Linked DNA regions of Homo sapiens: all the other regions are linked to region 1. Evidence: promoter capture Hi-C in 16 types of primary human blood cells and fetal thymus (Javierre and others, 2016). All regions are on one chromosome and are shown on one strand. Each heading gives the region's core, a stretch centred on a gene start or on the middle of the fragment in contact. The rest is flanking DNA. Distances are from core to core; before and after follow the strand shown. Region 1 holds the start of PRKDC (protein kinase, DNA-activated, catalytic subunit). Region 2 overlaps FNTA (farnesyltransferase, CAAX box, subunit alpha). Region 3 has its middle 2.7 kb from the start of RB1CC1. Region 4 overlaps PCMTD1-DT (PCMTD1 divergent transcript). Region 5 overlaps PCMTD1 (protein-L-isoaspartate (D-aspartate) O-methyltransferase domain containing 1).

Region 1 (5,164 bases), core at 1,764-4,263:
TTAAAGTGTTTGCGCATACTATCTTCATTACTGAAGAATTTCTGTTATCTGGAAACATTCTTTCTAGACTGTTACTAAAATTCATCAAGGTCAAAGCTAAATTCTTACCTGTGGGTAAGAGATGAGTTGTCTGTACAAATTTTTGTCAAATGATTTGATGTGTTCACAGTTCACATTTAAAAATGGCTCACCAATAACATTAATCTAGAAAATAAAAATGAACAAGTTATATTTTGCTAATTTAACTATTTTAAAACACGTAACTTGAATTTAAAGAGTATTTGATTACCTCCCCAAGTCGTTGCATGTATAGAGGTTCAGTAATATCTATGCCAACATTTTCTTCTTCTTTAGCCAGAGGGTCAATAAAACGCTGAAGAAATCTCTTTAAGTGGAGAGAAAACTGTATTAGGCATATAGCATTTGGGAACAGGCAACTACTAAAAACACACAAAGTTATGAGTATGTCACTATCAGGAGACAGAAATAAATAATATTTTTCTTCCTTTTTCTTTTCTAAAATTTAATTTGGAGATGGAGTCTCACTATATTGGTCAGGCTGCTATCAAACTCCTGGCCTCAAGTGATCCTCCCACCTTGGCCTCCCAAAGTACTGGGATTATAGGTGTGAGCCACCACAGGTGGCCCTTCTAGTCATTATGGCTACTTAGATATAGATTATAAACACGGTCTCCCAACATTTTCAGAGCCCAAAGTAAGAATTTTAATACATGTAGCTCACCTGAAAGTTTTCTTTGCATGCTGCCACATTTACATCTGTTCCCCAGATCACAAGTTTTTGGCCTAGAGACTGCTCACTTGCCACTATATCTTCTGCTGCTGCCTACACAGAAAAACATGACAGAATCATGAAAACAGAGTTACCCACATGATACCCGCCATAAGATGGTTTCAGGAGACTGCATACTCACCCCGTCAGACTGCAGATCCACTTGCAGGCCCTTCTGTGCAGAGCCCAGGTCAGGCCTCTGTCTCACAGGTGTGCCCCTAACACCACTTCTTGGGGTTCCCTCTACCCGAGAGCTGGGAGTGCCGTATGTCAGTGGTGAACTAACATCAAAGTCAAGAGGGATAGCTATAAAAACAAAATTAGGAAATTCTGGTGGCATATCAAACCTGAAATTACAGCATGTTGTCTGTTGATCTATACCATCTAATCGCAACAGCAAACTGAATATTTATTGCAACCTGCGGTGGCTGAGATTCTGAGCACTCTTAAATGTTCTATTAAAAAAAAGCACCAGAGAAGCTGCTTCCTCTGCTCACTAAGCCCTAAAACTACTATTTTCTGCACTCCGTTCAGCTCCTCTGGTTAAGAACATGCTCAGTCACGTGCAGAGGGGATGCTTTAGGCGTTATGCCAACTGTTATAAAGCCAGTAAACCTGAGCAGATAAAGCATCAGCTGTGTATCAAGCACAGCAAAACCAAGATCTTCAGACACGCACCTGAAGAATGCATTTGGGGAGGGCTGGAAAACAGCACGTCCTGCGCAGCAGGGCTCTGCAGGTCCACTCCAGGCGAGGTTGGCATCGGCTGCAACTCCCCCGTGGAGGTGGAATCCTCGCCTCTACGTCTCTGAGAGGGAGATGACCTGGCATCCTCACTCCGAGCTTGTGTCACACAAAACAGAAAAGACAGCCATTAACTTTCAGGGCCGGCCTTCCTGGATTTGTCTTTTCCTTGGGGCATTATGACTCACCACTGAACCAAACCAAACAGAGGCAAATGGCAATCGAATTAAGCAGCACCCAGGCCACAGCCTGCTGTGGGTGTCTGTGCGCACCAAGCGGCAGCGCCCAGCCCGAGGCTGAGCGCCCGGGTCCCGCGCACCCACCCAGCGCTGCCAGCTGCGGCGAGAGGGCAGACGGGGCGGCGCCGGGGGCTGTAGTGGGCCCGGCTCGGGGGACTCACGCGTCTGGGCGGGGGTGGCCCTTCCACGCCGGCTGCCGCGGCGGCTCGGGGTCGACGCCGGGGACGACATAGTGCTCGGAGTACCTGCGCGACAAGGACAAGCTCGGGCCGGGCCCGCCTCCCGGCTTCCCTGCCCTGCTCCGCAGCGCGGACGTTCCCGTCGGCTCCGCGCCACGCCCTCCCCGCCGGCGCGCGGTTACCGTGGAAAGGCGGCCGCTTGCCGACGACGCTCGCGGACTCCGAGTCCACCTGGCGAGTAGCGCTCCCAAACCGCGAGACCCAGAGTTCCCGCCGGCGGCAAGGTCGTCTCCGCCCCTGGCGGGGCCTCACCAATCACAGCGGCGCTCGTACGTGGCTCCGCCTCCGGGAGGCGCCACTGCGCATCGGCAGGGGGGGACAGTGCCGCTTCTTTCAGCGCCCGTGCGTAAACCAGAAGTAGGCCTCGCTCGGCCCCCCTTGGTCCAGATGGTCTGACCCCCTGCGCGGCAGCGTTTTCGCGGGAAAACTGGGTCCTACAGCACCAGCTCTCGGGGTGTGTTCCTCTAGCGTTGGCTAGGGAGCGTGTGCTTCTTTATCCCTTAGGCGTTTTTGGTTAATAAGGACATTACAGATGCATTTCTCACTTAAAGATTTTTTTTATTAAAAAAAATTAAGGACGGGAGGTGGTGGGGATGGTCTCATTATGTTGCCCAGACTGGTCTCGAACTCCTGCGATCCCCCCGCCTCAGCTTCCTAAAGTGTTGGGACTGCAGGCGGGCATCACCGCCCCCGACCGCGTTTGTCGTTTTTTATCGAGGAACAAACTTGGAACTCTTGACCTAGGCCCCTCGCTTGTTTTATCTGCCTCTGGTATTTATTTAGCCAAGTCCAACACCAAGTAGCCACCCAAACTACCTCCGCAGGTCAGACGTTTTTCCTTAGGTTTCCATGTTGATTCGGGCCAAAGAGGCGCGCTTACTGGCCAGGCCTTCCCGCAGGGGTCCCCGGGAAAGTTCCTGCCGCCGCGCCCCGCAGCCCCGCCTCCGCGCGTAGGGGCATTTCCGGGTCCGGGCCGAGCGGGCGCACGCGCGGGAGCGGGACTCGGCGGCATGGCGGGCTCCGGAGCCGGTGTGCGTTGCTCCCTGCTGCGGCTGCAGGAGACCTTGTCCGCTGCGGACCGCTGCGGTGCTGCCCTGGCCGGTCATCAACTGATCCGCGGCCTGGGGCAGGAATGCGTCCTGAGCAGCAGCCCCGCGGTGCTGGGTGGGTACCGGCCCGAGCTGGGCCGCGGGTGGGTCCTGGCTTCCCGAGTCGTTCTGGAGCCGGGCAGCCCGGCGCTTCTCTGTGTTTAGATGACGGTATTTTGAAGTACAGCAATTAGATTCTTGGGGGAATTTCTGTGTATGTGTATAAAGGGATTTGTCATACTGCTTTTTACCCCCTAGTATTAGAGGAAAGATATTTTAAAGCCAAAGTTGGTGAAAACGACCCCTAATATGGCAATCATTGCTATGCAGAGTGGGGGGCAGGGCAAGAGAAATAATTTTTTTTTTTTTTGAGACGGAGTCTCGCTCTGTCGCCCAGGCTGGAGTGAAGTGGCGCGATCTCGGCTCACTGCAACCTCCGCCTCCCGGGTTCAAGCTATTCTCCTGCCTCAGCCCCCCGAGTAGCTGGGATTACAGGCGCGCGCCACCACGCCCGGCTAATTTTTTTGTATTTTTAGTAGAGATGGGGTTTCACCATGTTGGTCAGGCTGGTCTCGAACTCCTGACCTCGTGATCCCCCCGCCTCGGCCTCCCAAAGTGCTGGGATTACAGACGTGAGCCACCGGGCCCGGCCAAGAGAAAGTATTTTCTTTCACCTGAATCTCGCCTAATCCCACCAGTACCTTTTCCAAACCCCTCTATTTGCCGTTCCTACTTTGAGAAAAATTGAAGAAATGTAATTGAAGTCATGTTCTTTTAACTCTTTAGCAATGCCTGGGTGGGAACTTTTTCCCCTTTGTAGTAAAAGTGCCTCTTTTTAGCATTTTAAATATTCAAATACTTAATTATGTGGATCTCCTGTATTCCTTCTTTAAAACACGAGTATGCAGACCTTGATGTTGTGCCCTATTAAAAGGTGAGATTTTCTTCCGGAGGGTCTAGTAGTGAATATGGTGTAGGAATAACTTAAACAGTTTAAACTAGATGCTATATGTGGCACGGTGCGGTGGCTCATGCCTGTAATCCCAGCACTTTGGGAGGCTGTGGCAGCTGGATCACCTGAGGTCAGGAGATGGAGACCAACCTGACCAGTATGGTGAAACCTTGTCTCTACTAAAAATACAAAAATTAACTGGGCATGGTGGCGAGCGCCTGTAGTCCCAGCTATTCGGGAGGCTGAGACAGGAGAATGTCTTGAACCCAGGAGAAGGAGATTGCAGTGAGCCGAGATTGTGCCACTGCACTCCAGCCTGGGCAACAGAGCACGACTCCGTCCCAAAAAAAAAAAAAAAAAGATGCTATATACATGTATCCTATATGTACTCTATCTGTTGTCAAGAATATATTAACAATGGGGAAATATCAAACAAAAAACTAACATTGCGTGATTACTTTCTCTTCTCAGGGTTTCAAATTTAGAATTCATTTTTGTTCGTTTAGTAACTTGTTTCTAAAGCACTTCCAAGTTTACCTTCCATTTATGCCATATCTCCTTTCACTTGAGAGATTCCAGGGGAAGTGTATTAGTTCCTTATTGCTGCTGTAACAATTACCACAAGCTTAGTGGTTTAAAACAGCACAGGTCTGTTACTCTTACAGTTCCCACTGTAAGGGGGATTCTGTGAGTCAGAATCCCACACAGGTCTCACCAAGCTAGAACCAAAGTACCAGACAGGGCTGCTTTCTTTCTGAAGGCTCTTGGGGAGGATCCATTGCCTTATTCATTCAGGTTATATAGGATTGAGGTCCCTGACATTCCATACTTCTTGAAGCTGTCCCCTTTCCTTGGATCACAGCTCCCTTCCCTTGGTCTTCAAGGCCAGCAACAGCATGTCAAGTCCCCCTAACTAGAGGTTTGGAATCTCCCGCTTTCCCAACTTCCTGTCTCTCTGACCCACTCTTCTTCATCTCCTTACTTTAAGGGCCTGTGTGATTACATTGGGCTCTCTGGATAATCCAGTATGATCTTCCCATTTTAAGGTCAGCTGATTAGCTACCTTAATTCCATCTGCAAGCTCAATTTCCTTTTGCTATATACATTTAACA
Region 2 (5,164 bases), core at 1,439-3,938, 4.9 Mb after region 1:
GGGTTGCATATATTCAAATATATTCATATAGCTGTTTTTCTGACATTTTGATCAGATTTTTAACTGAAAAATATGCCCAAAGGCAGAAAACTCAAACAGTACAAAAAGGTTCACACTAGATTTCCATTCCACTAAATTCCCAAGCCTCCTCCCCAGAAGCAACCATTATTAACTCATTCTAGTGTATCCTTCCAAATATAGTCTATGCATCTACAAGTATATAGCCTAATTCCATCCTTCATTTTTATGCAAACGAGATCCCATCACACTCTGAGCTTTGCATTTTTCACTCGTACATTATTAAAGATAGTGTAAACTAGTACAAATACTTCTACAACAAATCATTAAAATTTACATACTCTTTGACCCAGTAATTCCAGCTCTAGAAAGTTCTCTCACAAATATACTCCCATATGTGTGCAAGTATTCAAGGATATTTATTGGGAGCATTGGATTACAAAAAAAACAAACAAAAGACTGAGGCAGGCAGATCACTTGAACCCAGCAGTTTAAAATTAGCCTGGGCAACTTAGGGAAACTCCGCCTCTACAAAAAATATAGAAATTAATCGGGCGTGGTGATCCAGGCCTGCAGTCACAGCTACTCGGGAGGCAGAGGTAGGAGGATCGCTTGAGCCTGGGAGGTCAAGGCTGCAGTGAGCCATGATCGCAAGCACCGAGCCTGGGTGACAGCACAACACTGTCTCAAAAAAAAAAAAAAAAAAGGAACTGCCAGGTATGGTGGTTTGCACCTGTACTCCCAGCTACTCGGGAGGCTGAGGCAGAAGGACTGCTTGAGCCCAAGAGTTTGAGACCACGCTGGGTAACATAGTGAGAGCCTGTCTCTGAAAAGAAAAAAACAGAAAGGGGTCATTTACAGCCAAGTAGAATATTAAATGTGGGTAATGTGGTGACCCACTACTTGCAATGGCATCTGAAGTGGGATGGATGTTGCAGCACTGATCCCTTGGCCTGTGGGATCTGTGCTAACTCTGGGTAATGTCAGAACTGAATTAAATTGTAGGGCAACTAGTTGGTGTCTACAGAAAATTGCTTGGTGTGAAAAATCCAAACATTTGGTGTCGAAGTATTTTGACTATAGAGAAACAGTTTTTTCCTTTTAGCCTGTAACACTGAAAGTATCAGACACGAATATGAACAATTACTCCTCTTCACAAAATTCTGAGGTATACAAAGTTTACCTAGTTCTAAACACTATCTTTAAAAAGTTGAATTTGAGCAGTGGCTCAGGCCTGTAATCTCAGCACCTTGGGAGGCCGAGGTGGGAGGATCACTTGAGGTCAGAAGCTCAAGACCAGCCTGACCAACATGGTGAAACCCCATCTCTACTAAAAATACAAAAATTAGCTGGGCATGGTGACACATGCCTGTAATCCCAGCTACTCAGAAGGCTGAGGCACGAGAATCGCTTGAACCTGGGAGACAGAGGTTGCAGTGAGCCGAGATCACGCCATTGTACTCCAGCCTGTGCAACAAGAGCGAAAGTCTGTCTCAAAAAAAAAACCAAGCTTCCAAATAATTTCAAATTTAAAACAAAATGGTAACATATTAAATATGTATACAAATGTATATATATAATACATTATCTTACACACACACACACACACACACACACACATAAAACATACACATATGCACATTGATAAAATAAACTGGGAGGCTATCAGGCTGGGATAGCTCCAAAGCCTCAGGTTCCTATGTAAACAACCAAAATCCGATTCACTGTAAAAGGTAAAATGAAACATTATTCTTTTAATTCAAACATTATAAACAGACCAGGCGCGGTAGCTCACGCTTGTAATCCCAGCACTCTGGGAGGCCGAGGTGGGCGGATCACCTGAGGTCGGGAGTTCGAGACCAGCCTAACCAACATGGAGAAACCCCGTCTCTACTAAAAATGCAAAATTAGCCAGGTGTGGTGTCGCAAGCCTGTAATCCCAGCTACTCGGGCGGCTGAGGCAGGAGAATCACTTGAACCCGGGAGGCGGAGGTCGCGGTGAGCCAAGATCATGCCATTGCACTCCAGCCTGGGCAACAAGAGCGAAACTCCATCTCAAAAAAAAAAAATTATAAACAACATATTGTCATGCTCGAAGATTCTCAAACTTTGACTTTTTTAACTCAACATTGTTTCTGAGATCTGTTCATGTTATAATAGATCTAAATCCTCTTAACGGTTATATAGTATTAACTGTATGACAATGATACATTTTATTTTATCCATTTCTCCAAAAGATAGACATATAGCTTCCAATATCTTGCTTTTTCAAAAAATGCTGCAAATTATAGTAGCTAACATATATAGTGCTTACTATGAGCCAGACAGTATTCTACTATTTTATGTAAATAATTTACTACATCTATAGTTACTACCAAGATCCTCATTTTACACAGGTGGAAACAGAGGCACATAGGAGTTAAATAACTTGTCCAAGATTACACAGTCAGTAAAATGTGAAGTTAGAATTTGAACCAGATGGTCTGGCTCCAAAGTCTGTGCTTTTAACCTCCTGTGCATATCTTCTCATGCCATGTGCCAGAATGAACCCAATATTAAATTAGAAGCAACACACTGCTAGGTTGTAAGATAAGTGCATTTTCCAGTTTTAACAGATATACCAAACTACTTTCCAAAATGGCTAAACATTCGAAAAATCCCATATGAAATGTATGGAGCTCTTCATATATCTTAATACCTAATATAATATCAAGACAGTTTTCATTTCTGCCACTTAAATCATGGGTGGAAAATGGAATTCTCATTTTAACCTGTCATTCTTAATGATAAAGGATTCTTCCTATTTTATTGGCCAATGGGATTTTCTTTTCTGTGAATTGCCAGTTCATACCCTTTGTCCATTTTTTGATTAAACTCTCTGTCTCCTTATCCTGTTGTAAAAACGTCTCAGTTTTAATATGGATCCTGTTTAAATGACATACCTTCTTCCACACTGCTGCTTGCTTTTTAACTTGCTCATGGTTTCTTCTGCTGTGTAAGTTTTAAATTGATATATTTGTCTATAAACGGTTGACAGGTCAAACTTATCTTTTCCTTTAGGGTTTCTAACCATGGTGTATGTAAGAATTCACAAAGTTAATTTTTTTTTTTTTTTTTTGAGACAGAGTTTTGCTCTTGTCGTCCAGACTACAGTGCAATGGCGTGATCGTGGCTCACTGCAACCTCCACCTCTCAGGTTCAAGCAATTCTCCTGCCTCAGCCTCCTGAGTAGCTGGGATTACAGGCGCCTGCCACCACGCCCAGCTAATTTTTGTATTTTTAGTAGAGACAGGGTTTCGCCACGTTGGCCAGGCTAGTCTCAAACTCCTAACCTTAGGTGATCTGCCCACCTCAGCCTCCCAAAGTACTGGGATTACAGGCGTGAGCCACCGCGCCTGGCCCAAAATGTTAATTTTATACCTTGCAAAAAGGTTAATTTATCCTCAATGGAAACATATGATTATATTAGTTTCCCCCAACATCTCTGTTATAAGTACTTATGAATCTGAATAAGTTATGGTTTATATTTCTCTGATCACTAGTAAGGTTAATATCTCTTCATAGATATTTCTATTTTGTGAATTGTCTCTTCATATATACTATCTCTCAAAGTATGAGAGTTTTGCATTTCCGTGCAGTTATATATTCTGACCTTCTCCTTAATCGATTCTGAGGTTTACATCTTGCCTAATACGTTCTCCATCCTAAGAATGATAGGGATACAACTCTGCTTTTATCTAAGTGCACAGCCAACTGTTCCAACCATTATTTGATTAATCCACCCTTTTCATAAAGGTATAAAATGTCCTTTTTATCACATATTAAGCTTTCATAGAGTGAGGATCTATTTCTCGAGTCTTTACAAATCTACTTCTGTGCTACTTCCACTTAATCATTAAGTTTAGTAATATATCTGCACACTTAATACGGCAAACCTATCATTATGCTTTTTTAAACATTTATTGTCATTTTATTAGCAGAAAAAAAATGCTTTTGTAAAAGAATGATCTTAGAAAAGCCTTAACTGAAAGAAATATATATACATAAAATTACAAAACTATCATTCCATTTTATTCATTTTCCCTTTCCTAGAAGAACTAACAATTAACATTTCCACGACCTTCAATTTACACTTTCACATTCATTACAAAAGAATATTTTGTCAAAGAAAAAAATCCACTCATTTTAATATCAATAAATGTATTCCAACTGAGCTGAACACTTCACTGCCAAAATATATGTTTAAATCCTGATGTTTCAGCAACCAAAGTTTATTCTAAAAACAGTAACTCATTTATATTGTGTGGTACATGCATAATCTCCCTGGCGGTGGAGTCTCCAGCAAAGAAAAGAAAACCACAATCACATAGTAGCTATTATCTACTATACTGTAACGTTTATTATTTAGAATATGTCCAGTCTTTGGGCAAAATAAAACTTTTAATCATAAAGCTAAATCACACACACACATAAAAAAAACACAAAATTAACTCATCTTAAGTCATTCAGATTTTTATTAGACAGAAATTTGTCATCTATCTTGCTACATAGTTGTGAATTCCAATTCTGCTACTATATTTAACTTACAGACCTTTTCCTAATATAAACAAACTTACATTTGTCACTATAAATGATCTGGACCACGGGATTGGGGCCATCATTCTGCGGCACCGGATCTATATCAGCCCATTCTGCTCTGTCCCTGAAAACAGACATTCCCCAACCAGTGGTTACATTCAAATACAGAAGAAAAGGGACTCTAGTGTTTTTAAAATGACAATAATTACAGTTACATTGATATTAATAACTTACAGGGCTCATAATGTAATCATGGTTGGATTCTTCATGACCAAGTTTTGCCAATATGTTTTACACATTAAACTATTAAAGTAAAATTAAAACAAATAACCCTCAGATGCTGAAAAGCTAATCAACAGTTTTCAAATTTAAAGTTTTATAAGTAGAAAAATAAGTTTTTGCAGCAAGTAGACAGTACTTTTTTTTATTTTATTTTTTTGAGACGGAATCTCACTCTGTCGCCCAGGCTGGAGTGCAGTGGTGTCATCTCGGCTCACTGCAACCTCTGCCTCCTGGGTTCAACCAATTCTTCTGCCTCAGCCTCCCGAGTAGCTGGGACTAAGGACTA
Region 3 (5,164 bases), core at 925-3,424, 4.8 Mb before region 1:
AAGTTAGCCATCATCATTATTAGTATGTTTGAGTACCCACAAACCAGCTGAGAAGGGCAGCTTTCAGGTCTATAAGCAGTACTGAAAACATTAACTTAATCATCATAGTGCCAGCAGCCTCTAAATAGTACATAATCATATACACCAAATTAGTTATGGTTTTAAAAACAAAGTCCAAAACGTACATCTTTTTAACCCTTTTAAAAATGAACAATAATTGTGCCTCATACTTTGAATAAAGCCAAATTATGTGAATTGTGGTTGCTGGTTGTTTGAACATTGCCTAAAAGAAAATTAGGGTAATGACACTAAGTTGTTTGAGAAATATTTAATACATGTGCTGAATGCCTCAGGCAGAGTTGACAAAATTAAGATGTTTACCATGATCTTCCCAATAAACTGAATGTACTTTGGTAAAGAATTAATATCATATAAATTTGTTACTGCAATTATATTTATTTTTTTTTTCTTTTTTTGAGACGGAGTTTCGCTCTTGTTGCCCAGGCTGGAATGCAATGGTGCGATCTCGGCTCACTGCGACCTCCGCCTCCTGGGTTCAAGTGATTCTCCTGTCTCAGCCTACTGAGTATCTGGGATTACAGGCATGCGCCACTGGCTAATGTTGTATTTTTAGTAGAGACGGGGTTTCTCCATGTTGGTCAGGCTGGTCTCGAACTCCTGACCTCAGGTGATCCACCCGCCTCAGCCTCCCAAAGTGTTGGGATTACAGGCATGAGGCGTGAGCCACTGCACCCAGCCTGCAATTATTATTATTCTTCTTTTTTGAGATGGAGTCTCATTCTGTCTCCCAGGCTGGAGTGCAGTGGCATGATCTTGGCTCATGGCAACCTCCGTCCCCAGGTTCAATTGATTCTCCCACATTAGTCTCCTGAGTATCTGGGACTACAGTTGGGCGCCACCATGCCTGGCTAATTTTTGTATTTTTACTAGAGACAGGGTTTCACCATGTTGTCCAGGCTGGTCTCAAATTCCTGAGCTCAAGCAATCTGCCCACCTCAGCTGGTATTACAGGCGTGAGCCACTGCACCCTGCCTTTGTTACTGCAATTGTTTTGAATGGTCCCCTTTACAAGCCTATGAGATATTTGATGGCAGGAATTTTCCACAGTAACTTTCTAGTCAACCATCAATATAAATATAAAAATTTGCAGAATGTATTACATACAGCAAATCTTGTATTAATTGCTGACTGCCAAGCTCTCCATAAAGTTCCAGGAATTTAAAAATTAATAATGCATAGTTCTTAATCTTAAGAGTTTCACAGACTAAGAGGGGAGAGAAAAATTTACAGTTGTGAGATACAGAGCAAAGCTTAATAGAAGAGTGGAAACTCTAGAAGTTAGAAGCTGCTAACATCCAAGCTGTGTTTTAAGGGATGACTTTAAAGGTGAACAAGTGGGGAAGAACATTCCTGGATGAGGAAACTCATATAGAGCACATATAAAGGGGAGAAAAGTGCTGGGAGATACACTGGAGAGATGGGTTGATACCTTATCATGGAGAGACTTTCATGCTAGGTTAAGAAGTTTACCCATGCCCAGGGCCGGGCACAGTGGCTCATGCCTGTAATCCCAGCACTTTGGGAGGCCAAGACGGGCGGATCACGAGGTCAGGAGATCGAGACCATCCTGCCTAACATGGTGAAACCCCGTCTCTACAAAAAATACAAAAAATTAGCCGGGCGTGGTGGTAGGCGCCTGTAGTCCCAGCTACTTGGGAGGCTGAGGCAGGTGAATGGTGTGAACCCAGGCGGTGGAGCTTGCAGTGAGCCAAGATCGCGCCACTGAACTCCAGCCTGGGTGACAGAGAGAGACTCCATCTCAAAAAAAAAAAAGTTTAAATTGTATCTAGTATACAAAACAAAACCAATGAAAGTTGTTAGGCAGGGAAGAGATTTGATTAGACTGGTCTTGGATGGAGTAAATAATGGAGATGGATAGGAGGTCAATTCAGGTATAAATTGAGGGCCTGAACAAGTTGTGGGGTACTGTCAAATGTTTGTTGAGTGCATACCATTATATACCAGGTACAGTACATCTTTTAAAAAGGAGCTTATAGTCAGCATGTTAGATGACACTGAAAGATACAATGTGAGAATCTAAAGAAATTACAAGCATGTGGCCAGGTGCTGTGGCTCACTCCTGTAATCCCAGCACTGTGGGGGAGGCTGAAGCGGGTGGATCACTTGAGATCAGGAGTTCGAGACCAGCCTGGCCAACACGGTGAAACCCCATCTAATAAAAGTATGAAAAGTAGCCGGGAGTGGTGGCAAGTGCCTGTAATCCCAGTTACTAGGGAGGCTGAGACAAGAGAATCGTTTGAACCTGGGAGGTAGAGGCTGCGGTGAGCAGAGATGGTGTCACTGCACTCCAGCTTGGGCAACAGAGTGAGACTCTGTCTCAAAACAAACAAACAAACAAACAAACAAACAAACAAGCATGGTAGGGAATGACTCCCAGAGTAGGTGATATTGAAGTTGAGAACTGAAGGAAAAATAGGATTTTAAAGATCTGAACTGATTTGAAGTACTTAGGGTATTTATTGTACATCCTATATAATCCCTCCATACTCCTAAAGAAAACTGTTTTCTTTTGCCCTCACTGTAAATCTACTGAAGCATCTAAAATAGTTATTAAATTTAAAAAAACAATAATGTGATGAGGCCAGAATTAGGTTTCTCTCTTCTGTTCTCTCCCACGGCACATTACCTTTGCATCATTCGCACACTATTATAATTATCTGAAAATTTGGAAGAGGTCCAAAGAATGGACAGATATTTAGGAGCGCCAGGAAGGAAACAGCACAAAAGGGAAGGAGGAGTATAAAAGTTAAATAATTTAAAATGGCGAATGCTTTAGAAAGTTCAAGTAAAATCTTAGTACTGTAATTTACTGTAATTTGGAGGTCCTTGTTAATGATCTGTTTGCAAGTTAAGTAAGAAATGCACAGTAGGCCAAAAATGAGATTGGACTGAGGACTTCCTATCAGAAAGCTTGGTTGAGAAGTGATGCTACAGAATTTTGTTTGTTCTTTTTTTTGTTTTATTAAGGAAGGGAGAATAGAGGGTGTCCAATAGGCAACAAAAGTAACTTTTCAAGACCTACTACCATGGATACATGTATTAGTAACTTATAAACAGTATTTCCTCTAGATATTTGCATATATATAATAGAATTAATGTTAGTACATTTTCACTTATCCCTAGGAAAGAATTACTGATGTTTGTTAAGAGTCTGTTAAGAATATACAAACTCTTAACATTTACACTGGAGGTGTATAAGGTATGAACCAGTCGTTTCTGGTAATTTATTGCAACCTGTGATTAAGAGAGAAGGTTAGGACTGAATTAATTCATTTTCCAAAGAAAAAAGTCAGACAACATTTATAATTTACCAGATTATCACTGGCATAGTTCAGAAATTTTTTTTTATTTTTCAGACAGGGCAACAATCTGTTGTCCAGGCTAGGAGTGCAGTGGTGCCATGATGGTTCACTGCAGCCTCGACCTCCTGGGCTCAACTGATTCTCCCACCTCAGCCTTCTGAGTAACTGGGACCACAGGTGTGCATCACCACGCCCAGCTAATTTTTGTATTTTTTGTAGAGAAGGGGTTTCACTACGTTGCCCAGGCTGGTCTCCAACTCCTGGGCTCAAGCAATCCTCCTGCCTCGGCCTCCCATAAGTGCTGGGATTCCAGGTGTGAGCCACTGCACCGAGCTCCAGCAAGATTTTTACATTCTAAATTGGGTTATATTTGTAATAATGAATGTCACTAATAAGAGGAAGTGCAAGTACCAATACGTTCTTTACAGGCCTCATACTGCAGTTTTTCTTTTCTTTCTTTTTCTTTTCATTCTTGGTCATACTGCCATTTTTCTTAGCCAATTTTCTGGCCAAACTCCTCCTCACCACTTATTTTCTGTGTGCTGATGACTATGCTTTACTACTAAATTTGGCTCTTTTGTCTTGCCAGTTCACACCTTCCCTTAAGGCATAATAACCATTTACTACTTAATTTTCGCTTTTCTCCTCTATCTTGCTGGGGTGGTGTAATAAAATTCCAGCTTAACCAATAAGTAAAATGGCTTGCCAGTGATGATAAAGACCACATTTGTTTGGGATATGTAGCAGCACAAATTTAAAAGTAAATAAATAAAACAAGCCCATCTCAATCCTAACTTACAGATACTGGTCAGTGTGACTGAAAACTGAAATTGTTCATGCTAACCAACGTTTTTCAGTTTCCACCTAACATTTTGTTCAGTTTGGTGCCCTCTTGTGCCTCCTATTTTTACAAACACAACTCAGAATTCCTGATGACTTTAGAGAAGGCACCTCCAAGTTTTCACTCATACCAGATATTCCTGGATATAACAGGAATTTGAGAACTATTATGTAATTATTCTACGTGTAACATCTGCTCATCAGATTTTAATATTCAAGCCTCGTGGCTTCAAGTCATTGCCTGTGACTGATCATCTTCACAAATGCAAGAGTCCCCTGAAACTGTCTCCCAACCATTAGGGTGCTCATGCTAACCCCTAACCCACTAGACCCACTACAAGATTCAGTATTTGTAAAGCTGAAAACGTGGTTGTGGCGTTTACATTTTCATTCCGATTGGCCTAGGCTTCCCTCTCTTCTCTCTTGCATGTTTTCTTGCCTTACCTGGTCTGAGAAATGGTGCCGCCCCACCCTTGCAGAGTTAACAGGGGGACGCTTGCCAGCTGCGTGCAGTCCCGGCGGTCCGGATATGCGGGGAGGTGGCGGCAGGAACGCCTGGGCCAGGCGCTGGTACGTTATCCTGTTACAGACCTTGGCCTAGTCCGCAGGTTGCCCCTGGAGAGGCGACGGGGACACCAGACCCTCGATTGGCTCCGCTCCTCCGCGACAGGCTGAGGGGAACAAGCTCTCTTTCGCCTGGGGACGATCCAGTGTTTGGTGGGTCGACCTTAGTCAGGGCCTAGCTGTCGCAAAGAAGGTCAAATTCACCTTGGGAAAGTACGCACCGGGACGGCAGCTAGCACCATAACAGGCGGCCCCAGCGGAGTCTCCCAGGGTCAGGCCAGGACAGCCAACCTGCCGGCCGGAGAGCCGGAGGCGGGGCCGCCCCCTTCCCGGCAGGCTGCCGACTTCCGGACCTG
Region 4 (5,164 bases), core at 733-3,232, 3.9 Mb before region 1:
AAAAGAGGCCGTGTGAGAACACAGTGAGGAGGCAACCAACTGAACTCAAAAAGAGAGCTCTCACCAGAAACCATCCATGCTGGCAAACTGTCCTTGGCCTCCAGAACTGTGTAAAGATGTCTGTTGTTTAAGCCACCCAGTCTATGGTATTTTGCCATAAGGCAGCCTGAGCAGACTAATACAAGTACCAAGGGTGTGGGGATTCTCGCAAAATCAGGCCCAGCAGGTCAAACATGAAGCCTAGCCAAGAAGAGGGCTGAGAGTAGTGGGACAAAAGTTTGGTCAGGCAGGGTGCAGTGGCTCACGCCTATAAACCCAATTCTTTGGGAGACTGAGGCAGGAGGATCACTTAAAGCCAGGAGTTTGAGACCAGCCTGGGCAACAAAGTGAGACCCCCTATCTGTATATAAAAAAAAAAAAAATTAGCCAGGTTCAGTGGAGTATGCCCGTAGTCATAGCTACTCAGGAGACTGAGGTGGGAGGACCTCTTGAATCCAGAAGTATGAGGCTGCAGTGAGCTGACTGTACCACCACACTCCAGCCTGGGTGGCAAAGTGAGACCTTGTCCCAAAACACACACACACACACACACACATAAATAAAGTTTGGTCAGTCTTTTCTCTTGTTCAAGGAAAGAACAGACATTTTTCTTTCCTCTAAATAGTAAGTCCATTTCTAAGTTGGCTTCCTTTTGTTAATTAAGGAAAAGCTAAATTATTCTCTTGAGATTTGCAGTAAAGACATTTGTTAGATGGCAAGAGCATTTAATGAAGGGTATTCCTATGAAAATAAAAGAAAAACAAAAATTAATTGTTGGAGCAGACTATGAACCCAGCTGGTGATTCTATACTTCAGGTGTGAAGCACCTGTAGAAGATGGAATAAGGATGGCAGTGGCAATCCAACTGCCACTGCAAACCAGTTTCTGGTTTGCAGTTTGAACACTTTGGTGATGACGCAGACCTCAGGGAGGTTTTCGTGAGATTGTCACGATCATGGTTATTTCCTACAGCAGAGTGTGGCAGAGGCAGGAGTTCCAGTGAACTTCCTGAGTGGCCTCCACAGCAGTAGCTCTGGGCATGAAGGATGCCCTAACATGATCTTTTGTGATGATGAGCACTTGGAAATTTATCCTGCAGGATTTCTGCAGATCTAGGAGAAAAGGCTGGCTACAAGACAACCTAGAGTCCCAATAAGAATCTGGATAGGCAGGTTTTAGTTAAGTCAGGAAGGTAGAAGTAAATCAGAAACATTTGGAGAGTTGTAGCCAGATATTAAAGGAAACTAGAAGAATTGAAAATTTGATAAAGACTGACACTATGTGTGAAAGAGCAGAGTCCAGTACCATTTACAAGTAGGCAACAAAACTATGTAGGGTTACAAAGAGGTGAAAAATAGCTCAAAGTCAATGTACAGGACTAGAATCTGGTAACCCACAAGGGGGTGTTAATAGTTTTCTACTGAAACAAAGAACTTGTCTCTACAGTCAGAAACAGTTAATTTTCCCAAGATATATAATAGACTATTAATGCATGTACATGAATTAACTCACAGTTTTTGGCCGGGGGCAGTGGCTCACACCTGTAATCCCAGCACTCTGGGAGGCCAAGGCGAGTGGATCACCTGAGGTCAGGAGTTTGAGACCAGCCTGGCCAACATGGCGAAACCACGTCTCTACTAAACATACAAAAATTAGCTGGGCGTGGTGGTGGGGTTCTGAAATTCCAGCTACTCAGAAGGCTGAGGTAGGAGAATTGCTTGAACCCAGGAGGCAGAGGTTGCAGTGAGCCAAGATTGCGCCACTGCACTCCAGCTTGAGACTCTGTCCCAAAAATAAATAAATAAATAAATAAAAAACCTTACAGTTTTTTATTCCTGAGTATTATTTAAGTTAGGGGACTATAAAATGCACATATTTGTGAAGTATGCGTTTCTGTTTTACAACTTTTATTTTTTATTATTCCTGTTATCTAAAAGGATCTTGAATCATGTTTTGGATTTTGTTTTCTTCTTTGCTACTGCTCCTCTTGCTTACTGACAAAACTTTAAAAACTCTTATCTTGACCATAAGAACTGTTTTAAGTTAGTATCCTCAAAGACTTATCATTACCAAGATTGTGACTAAGGTAGTGGCAAAGGAACTTATCTGCCCATATAAGAATACATTTTTCGTTATTAAAATAAATAATCTCATTGGTATGTGGCTTCTTGTTTGAATATATAACACCGGGACTTTTCATACTCATATTCTGTTCTTCTTGGAAAATGGGAAAAGTACCTGTCCCCCTGCAGGCAGTGTGAGCCATATGAACGTGGACAGAAGTGATGTGTGCCATTTTCAGGCAGGATCACTTATTTGCTAGCATAAGACACTGCAAGAACTCTCTTTCCATCATAACAATAGAAAGCACATGTCAATATGATGGTGTTAGGAGTACTGAGCCAACTCATGGAGGACAGCTGCCCTGGAATACTGTCTGATATATAAACTTTTGCCATGATAGGCTACTGCAATTTTGTGTCATTTGTTAGAGCAGATAATCTAGCCTATCCAGACTGATACAGTTAAATGAGTTCTGTATTAGCAGTGTCCAGGTTTGGATGATAAATTATATATATCTCTCCATATAATTTATATAGATATACATATATATTATATATATAATATCTCTATATAAGATATACTGATATAATATATATAAATAATTTTAATATATAAATTATATAGACAGCTATATAACTAATTTTTTAATGACAAAAATTATAACTACATAATTTATATAAATATATTATAGATATATAAATTATATCTGTATGTATGATATATATTATATATACATTATAATTTTTATATATAAATTATACGCAGAGAGAGATATATATATATAATTTATCATCCAAACCTGGACACTTCTGAGAGTGACATGGAAAACCATTAGTCATTCCATCAGGATAACAGTCATAAACTGGGACTGACTTGAGCAAACCAGGCTGTGTGGTCGTCTGAAGTACGTGGCAAGCAAAAGTAGAGGTGTTGAGAACCCCTGACCACCAGACAGCTTTCCAAGAATATTTTCTCATGACATGTTGGAATGTCATTAAACAACCACAAGAGATTGTTTAAGTTTTAGATCATAAGGTAATATAGCCTAGTCAAAGAGGATAGCTCAGTTTAGAAAATCTGGTAAGCCAAGTATATTCTAATTATTTAAATTTTTAAAAATAATTAATAAATTATTTTTGACTTTGAGCTCATATTTTTTGAAACAAACGAGAAATTTTTCTTTGAGTTATACTCTCAGGTCTCCTATCTACAGGATGATTAAAATATTCTGGAATCTCACATATAGTCAAATCATTGAGGAGGCTCTGTGGGTCATAAGCCATTGGTTGTGAGAGGCTTGTTGTCCTAGCTGGGATGGACCCTTCAGTTCTGGAAGTTCTGCAGATTCGATTCTACATGTGGGGCATGAGGAAATGAGGCAAAGGTGGAAACCCCAAGTGGAAAACTCCTGCCTATGTGTAGCATGCATCCATTTCCCCTGAGGTTTTGCCACCTGCTATGATGCTGTTTGGTAAACAGATTTTGGCTTGTTTTACTGCTCAATGAATCCATATTCCTCTTTTCCATTTATAGTGTCGGGAGGAAATTAGGGTCATTGCTGTACAAGAAAAGTCTGCTTTTTGCCCTGCCAAAAACTTCATTACATCACCAAGGCAAGGAATCACACAATTGGCTATCTGCTAAAATACATTAGGGGAAAAGAAAAAGGTGTAAAATAAAAATACAGTTGCCCCTCGGTATCCATAGGGGGTTGGTTCCAGGACTTCCCACCCTTGGATACCAACATCTGGATGCTCAAATCCCTGATATAAAATACGGTAGTATTTGCATATAACCTATGCACATCCTCCCATATATGATAAATAATGTCTAGATTACTAATAATATCTAATATAATGTAAATGTTATATGAAGTCTTCCTTTCCTGTTTACCTTGTCTGGTGCTTTTGTTTTCTTTTTCTTTTTTGGGGGGGGGATGGAGTGTCACTCTGTCGCCCAGGCTGGAGTGCAGTGGCGCAATCTTGGCTCACTGCAAGCTCCGCCTCCCAGGTTCACGCCATTCTCCTGCCTCAGTCTCCCGAGTAGCTGGGACTACAGGTGCCCGCCACCACGCCCAGCTAATTTTTTGTATTTTTAGTAGAGACGGGGTTTCACCGTGTTAGCCAGGATGGTCTCGATCTCCTGACCTCGTGATCCGCCTGCCTCGGCCTACCAAAGTGCTGGGATTACAGGTGTGAGCCACCGTGCCCAGTCGTCTGGTGCTTTTTTTCTTTGATATTCCTGAACTTAAACAGTAGCTAGGGGCAGGCACGGTGGCTGACACTAGTAATCCTAGCACTTTGGGAGGCTGAGGCAGGAGGATCACTTGAGGCCAGGAGTTTGAGACCAGCCTGGGCAACATTATGAGACTTCCATCTCTACTAAGAATTTAAAAATTAGCTCCATGATGTGGCACATGCATGTAGTTCCAGCTGCTTAGGAGGCAGAGGCAGGAGGATTGCTTAAACCCAGGAGTTCAAGACTGCAGTGAGCTATGATCACATCACTGCATTCCAGCCTGGGCAACAGAGTGAGACTCTGTCTCCAAAAAATACAACAACAAAAAACGGTAGCTAGGAACAAAAACCATAAGCTAATTCATGCACTGGCATTAATGGTCTATTAACATATATTTTGTGAAAATTAACCATTTCTTGGTTTATTAAAGTCTTGCCTAAGATATAAGTATATAAAAAATATGACTGAAGCTTTTGTCTCTGGTAGGAAATTCAGCATGTATTGTTTAGGGAATAATGATCAAACAAAAGTCTACACATTTAGTACAGATGCAACCATCCATTTTTGGGGGGAATATTTTCCATCTGTGGTTGGTTGACTCTATGGTGTGGAACCCATGGATATGGAAGGCCAACTATATAAACTAATATGTCAGAGATGTATCTCATTTTCCAACCTTTTAATTAGAAACCAAGGGAAGCTAAGAACACAGAAAGTCCTCCTGCCTAAAACAATCTAGCTATAGCTTACTCCTGAGGCCTCAAATTCCTTATAAGTAATAGAACATCATTATTTAATTCCTTTGTAAAAATTGTAGATTGAG
Region 5 (5,164 bases), core at 309-2,808, 3.9 Mb before region 1:
TCATGCAGAAGTTACAGTTTTTTCTTATATCTGCCATTGTGCCCTGTATTGTTTATAGTTTATCTAACTAATAAGTAATTAATTCTTGCTTTATAAAGTAAAAATATAATTCTGTTAAGAATTTTGAATGTAGGATATCTTGGTGATGGGAAGAGACGTTTTCTTTTTGGAATGTTAAAATGCATGCTTATAAAGGAATGAGACTGATTCTCAAACTAATCCATTTGTAGTCTACCTGCCCTTAGCTTTATAAAATATTAAAGTAATCATAAATACTTCTTTGAAGATACAAATTGTAAGTGAGCTTAAAATAATTCACTGACTTTAAAAATAGTTAATATATCACATGTTGCAAATTTTAAGTGATACAAAAAATATATAAACTGAAAATGTATCTTCCTCAGCCTCCCATTTTCCCCCCTGGGATGGGAAGTAGTCACTTACCTCTGGAATGATATAATGGAAACTATTTTTTTATTTGTATGTACAATGAAATATAAATAAATTTTCTTTCCACTTACATAAAGATGAGGTACACTGCTGTTTTTTTCACTTGGATTTTCACATAACCATATATCTCTATGAGGAGATAAAGAACCACTTCATTCTTAAAAAAACAATTTCAGCCTCAGAGTATATTATAGATAGCTACAGCTATAGATTGTATTTCAATTATAATTGATTTAACTATATTCCCTACTAATGAGCATTTAGTTTCTAACTATTACAACCGTTGTGACAACACTTTGAAGGAAGAAAAGTAAAAAGTAGGTGGTCTTTTCTTGTAGGGGAAAATAAAGTTTGAAAGCTGAAATGGGCTTTTTGGTTCCTTTTCTGACCTGATGATTAGTGTGTAAGTGAATGGAGAGAACTGTGGGGTTATGTGAAGACATTTGCTAGAAGCCATAGTTGACAATCGAGTTGGAAGAGTTGGGATGGTAGTGGTGATGGGTAGCAGCTGCCATGACCAATGGTCCACTCTGGGCAAGGGTCAGCCCTGCATGTGTTAGCAGTTCAGTGTTTAGAAATGATACGTGGTATCTGGAGTTTGGTGTCTGGATCTATGGCCTATGCTAGTATATTTAACGTAGGAAACCTATGCAGGGGATGAATTTAGATCCCTTTGTGTCATCTAGAAGGAAATGTTGTGGCTTACAATATTGTATGTGGTTATTAATCTTTTTATTGAAAAATTATTGTATATTCAGAAATAAGATTTAAATTACTAAATTAAATGGAGTTAAACAAGCAGGCCCCCATCATCTGTGTCTGCTCCTCATGGTTTGCTGGGGTAATGGTTTTTTAACAGTTTGGTATGAATGCTTTCAGACTTATGTATAAACAGAAACAATATATTCGTGCATATTAAAAATGTCAGTCAGAATTCTGTTGAATAACAAGTACATGGAATGAATGGTAAAAGTCAGAATCTTTAACAAGAGAAGAAGGTGGTGGTGGGATACCAGGTAATTATATAGTGAATGTTCTTTGATTCCTTTAGATCCAAGGGGGCTGTAAATACACACTGTTAATTGTGTAAACTGTACTACCTATTTAGCCTCTGTAGCTAGTTTATCAGGTTATTTCTACAGATCATTTAAGGTTTCTGAAGCTATATATATATATATACATATATATGTATATATATATTTTTTGTTTTTTTTTTTAACTAGTGGCATATAATTTACTGAATAATGATATATTCTCTTTATTTTCCAGGCATTCTATGCTAAATTTGGGATTTGAGTGTTTTTTTGTTTTCTTTTTTTTGAGACAGGGCCTCGCTGTGTCACCCAGCCTGGAGTGCAGTAGTGCGATCTCGGCTCACTGCATCCTCCACCTCCTGACCTCGAGCAATCCAACCTCAACCTCACCAGTAGCTGGGATTACAGGCATGTGCCACGATGCCCGGCTAATTGTTTTTTTCTTTCATTTTTTGTAGAGATAGGTGTCTCAGTATGTTGCCCAGGCTTGTCTCAAAGTCATGGGCTCAAGCCATCCTCCTGCCTTGTCCTCCCAAAGTGGATTAGAGGAGAAAGCTACCTTGCCCGGCCTCATGTCATTTATTTTTAGGGTGGTATGTGTATGCTGCCTAGGTTCATATGGTTTAGATTTATTTTTAACAGTGGTTCATTTGCACTGACCCATTTCTGAGCTCCTGCGATTCTCTTTGGTCAATTATACTTCCCTAGATATTGTGAACATAATAAGTAAAAGCTCATTTATTTGATTTTGCTTTTTTCCCTGTATAACAGCAGTAGAAATTTATTGTGGAAAGACTAGAAAATATGGATAAAGAAAAGGAGAAACAGGTTAACGGGGATGTTATCACCTGAGGCTCGTATGGTTTTTAATTCTGAGGGACCTCTGTGTTAATGAAAACACCACTAGAAATGTCCAGCTTTGTAAGTCCTTCTGCCATGTAATCCTGTGGCAGATGTATTTGGTGATAGAAGTATGGAAAATGTGAGTGCTTGCATTTTCTCTGACCTGGATGCATCTGTGCTAGGAAGTGGTGTTTTAAGTAACCAAGGTTGTGTTAAGGCCTTGACTTAATGTTATTAGGGGATTTCTACATTTATACTGCCAAGCACATGGGTGTTTAGCTGTTGGTTATGGGAGCCACAGGTGTGCTGGTGGATGGATCAGTCGGTGCTTCTCTGTCACTGCTACTGCGTAAGTAGTGCAGAGGTTTTGTTCTGATTATGTATCATTATATCTTTGTAGTCCATATTTAAAATACTGGGCCTTGAGTAGAAGGAACTATTTAGAAATGTCATAGCTCAAAAAGCAAATGCAAAACAGTCTTTGTTTTAGAAGGATGGTTTATCCCTGTTACTCCTGTAAGTCTCGGTATTCTAAATTTTCATGTTTTCATTGTAGTGTCTTGGCGGCTAGAGCGGATTTTAAATTTTCTGGTCAGTCTTCATACTCAACTGGATAAGAACAAATTTTGGAACATGCAAAGGCAGTCACTCTAATTTTAGTTTCAAGGAAAAGCCTAGCAGTGATATATACTGATTTACCAGGCATTGTAAATCCCATTGTGAAAGAATTATTTTAAATACATCTAAACCGTTTTTAATAGGCTTGACTTTTCCCTGTAAATAGAGTAATTTGAACCTTTATTCTTTTATGAACCAGAGAAATTAGAAATAGATGTAGGCATTTCTACAATGATCTATATAAATATCTGTGAATATAACCATTCATGCAGTTGATTTGGCTTTAAAGAAAAGGGAGGTAATCACCATGGACTTAAAGTAGTTTAATTACCTCATTATTTATGACAAAAAGGCTTTATATAAGCTTTTTTTTTTTTTTTTGTTAAGGACTTGTTCAGTTATCACTGTTTAGTTATCACTGGTTTTATTGTATCTAGGCAGCACAATAAAATTAATTCACTTCACACTAATATATATTTTTGTGTGTACACACACACACACACACACACACACACGTATATCCTTACATATGGCCATTTGTGGTGCACAGCTCAGGAGACACTATTAACATAGAATCTAATATAAATGACATTCCCTTTACTGCTTCAGGAAAACTGACACTTTATGTGGGAATAGTGCTTCCTGGCATTGTGTAGTCAGCATGAGACCCTGTTAAATTTGATACTTTCCACATTTTCACATTTTCGTATAACTTTGCATCTTGTCAAAGAGGTAGGAAAGTATTGTTATTCCCATTTTATAGATGCATGAACTAAGACTCAGAATGACTTCAGTTTCCTCAGTCTGCTTTATTTTCTATAAAATGATGATACCAGACTCAGCAATCAACAGTGTTGAGGGACACAGGGTTTGGTGTCAGATAGATCTAGAACTCAACCTCAGTTTTGCCTCCTACTAGCTGTAAAAGCTTAAGGAAGTTATTTAATCCCTTTCCTTCGTTTCCCATCCCTAAAAATAATGCTGTTACATGAAATTTTATGAAGACTTAAATGAGTTAATATACTTAAAACACCTCAAAGCTTTATGCTGTAAGTGCTCAATTAATGATAGTTGCATTAATAATCAGTAATAAAGGTTATATATTATTTTGTGAGTCGTATACTACTTTTCAGAGATTATGAGGTCAGTTAACACTTGATAGAAAGTGACGGACCTAACCTAGAAGCAATATCCGTTTTAAGTAGAGGCCAAACTTGGACTGATAACCTCATGCTCTCTTACCAATATTGTAGGCAGTGAGTGAGGAGTTAACAATAACAACAAAAGGCCTAGGAAAAGCAAGGAGAATGTGTCCTATATAGTCAGGGACAGACTTTGGAGTCACACTAGACCCACCATAGTTGTGTGTAAAATAAAGCAGATTTGAATCATCTAGTCACACAAAAAAGAAACGAGAAGTTACTGCAGTGAGAGAGCAAAGCAGTTCCAGATGGTGGAATGCTTTTACTGTGTGTGTTGGTCTCTGAGGTGCTCGTGACATACCATTATCATACTGTTCCTCATAATGACCCTCAGCCACTAAGAAATGGTTGAGTTATGCGGGATAATTTGCTAAGACTGTAGAACTAATACACTATATAAAGACTTTCATTACTTTGTTTTTAATCTTTGCAACTTAAAGGAGTATTTTTCAGTTACCAGTAACATTAATTTGTTTTACTCGGTGCTAGATAAAAATGACTAAATTTGAATGTGCACATTATTTCATTTGATTCTTAAAACTAAGTAGGTCATAGAAAGGTTAATGGCCAATGGTAAAATAAAGGCTATGAGTTCAGACTTTCATGCATATATTTGATTCTGGGTCTCTTTCTCATTGTTAACCCAAAGCTTATTTATAAAGGTCAGGGCCTGCTTGTTTGTTTTCATACCCTTTAGTGCCTTCTACTGTGGGAGCATTACGAAAATCAGGTCCTGCTCCTAAATGTCTTAATATTTTGTTATCTAGTGTATCTTCCCATTCATTTTTTTGTGATACACAAAAGTCATTTACCTGAAGGGGAATCTATTTTTAAAAGGATGCTCCCTCTTGAGGCCAACCTGGAATCCTCCTGCATTGAATTGACAATTTTGAATCTGCTACTATATCCTGTTGGATGTCAACAGCTAAGGAAAGGTATGGACCATCATATACAGGGTCTTACTCTATTGAACTGAACTTCTGTAAGCACTCAGAATGAATCTATATGGTAGCTTTC

Evidence for each region. Contacts are between HindIII fragments. The CHiCAGO score rates a contact against its expected background, and 5 or more counts as called.
Region 2: a fragment that was not itself captured here is called in contact with the fragment with the promoter of PRKDC in region 1 in 1 of 17 cell types (non-activated CD4 T cells); the score reaches 5.3 in non-activated CD4 T cells.
Region 3: a contact is called between a fragment that was not itself captured here and the fragment with the promoter of PRKDC in region 1, in 1 of 17 cell types (non-activated CD4 T cells). The highest score is 5.3, in non-activated CD4 T cells.
Region 4: a fragment that was not itself captured here is called in contact with the fragment with the promoter of PRKDC in region 1 in 1 of 17 cell types (naive CD8 T cells); the score reaches 8.8 in naive CD8 T cells.
Region 5: a contact is called between a fragment that was not itself captured here and the fragment with the promoter of PRKDC in region 1, in 1 of 17 cell types (naive CD4 T cells). The highest score is 5.2, in naive CD4 T cells.

What each region holds. Positions count from the first base shown.
Region 1 is chr8:47,957,985-47,963,148 of GRCh38, reverse strand. PRKDC (protein kinase, DNA-activated, catalytic subunit) reads left to right here and starts at 3,013. Exons shown (of 86, transcript NM_006904.7): 1 at 3,013-3,176. The coding sequence starts at 3,023. MCM4 (minichromosome maintenance complex component 4) reads right to left here and starts at 2,208. Exons shown (of 17, transcript NM_182746.3): 1 at 2,135-2,208; 2 at 1,935-2,018; 3 at 1,469-1,633; 4 at 933-1,096; 5 at 743-844; 6 at 290-385; 7 at 109-204. The coding sequence starts at 2,004. RefSeq lists silencers at 1,775-2,174, 2,845-3,144, 3,155-3,204 and an enhancer at 3,385-3,544. The HindIII fragment of the contact is 8,899 bases long and covers 1-4,679 here.
Region 2 is chr8:43,058,648-43,063,811 of GRCh38, reverse strand. FNTA (farnesyltransferase, CAAX box, subunit alpha) reads right to left here. Exons shown (of 9, transcript NM_002027.3): 2 at 4,635-4,720. Among named protein-coding and RNA genes, the nearest start is that of FNTA, 4.9 kb to the right of the region's middle. The HindIII fragment of the contact is 2,316 bases long and covers 1,531-3,846 here.
Region 3 is chr8:52,714,515-52,719,678 of GRCh38, reverse strand. No RefSeq gene overlaps it. Among named protein-coding and RNA genes, the nearest start is that of RB1CC1, 2.7 kb to the right of the region's middle. RefSeq lists enhancers at 4,680-4,729, 4,750-5,059 and a silencer at 5,120-5,164. The HindIII fragment of the contact is 1,681 bases long and covers 1,334-3,014 here.
Region 4 is chr8:51,904,661-51,909,824 of GRCh38, reverse strand. All of the region lies in intron 1 of PCMTD1-DT (PCMTD1 divergent transcript), which reads right to left. Among named protein-coding and RNA genes, the nearest start is that of PCMTD1-DT, 7.9 kb to the right of the region's middle. The HindIII fragment of the contact is 5,663 bases long and covers 1-4,813 here.
Region 5 is chr8:51,888,162-51,893,325 of GRCh38, reverse strand. The region is part of intron 1 of PCMTD1 (protein-L-isoaspartate (D-aspartate) O-methyltransferase domain containing 1); the gene reads left to right. Among named protein-coding and RNA genes, the nearest start is that of PCMTD1, 8.3 kb to the left of the region's middle. The HindIII fragment of the contact is 3,507 bases long and covers 1-3,311 here.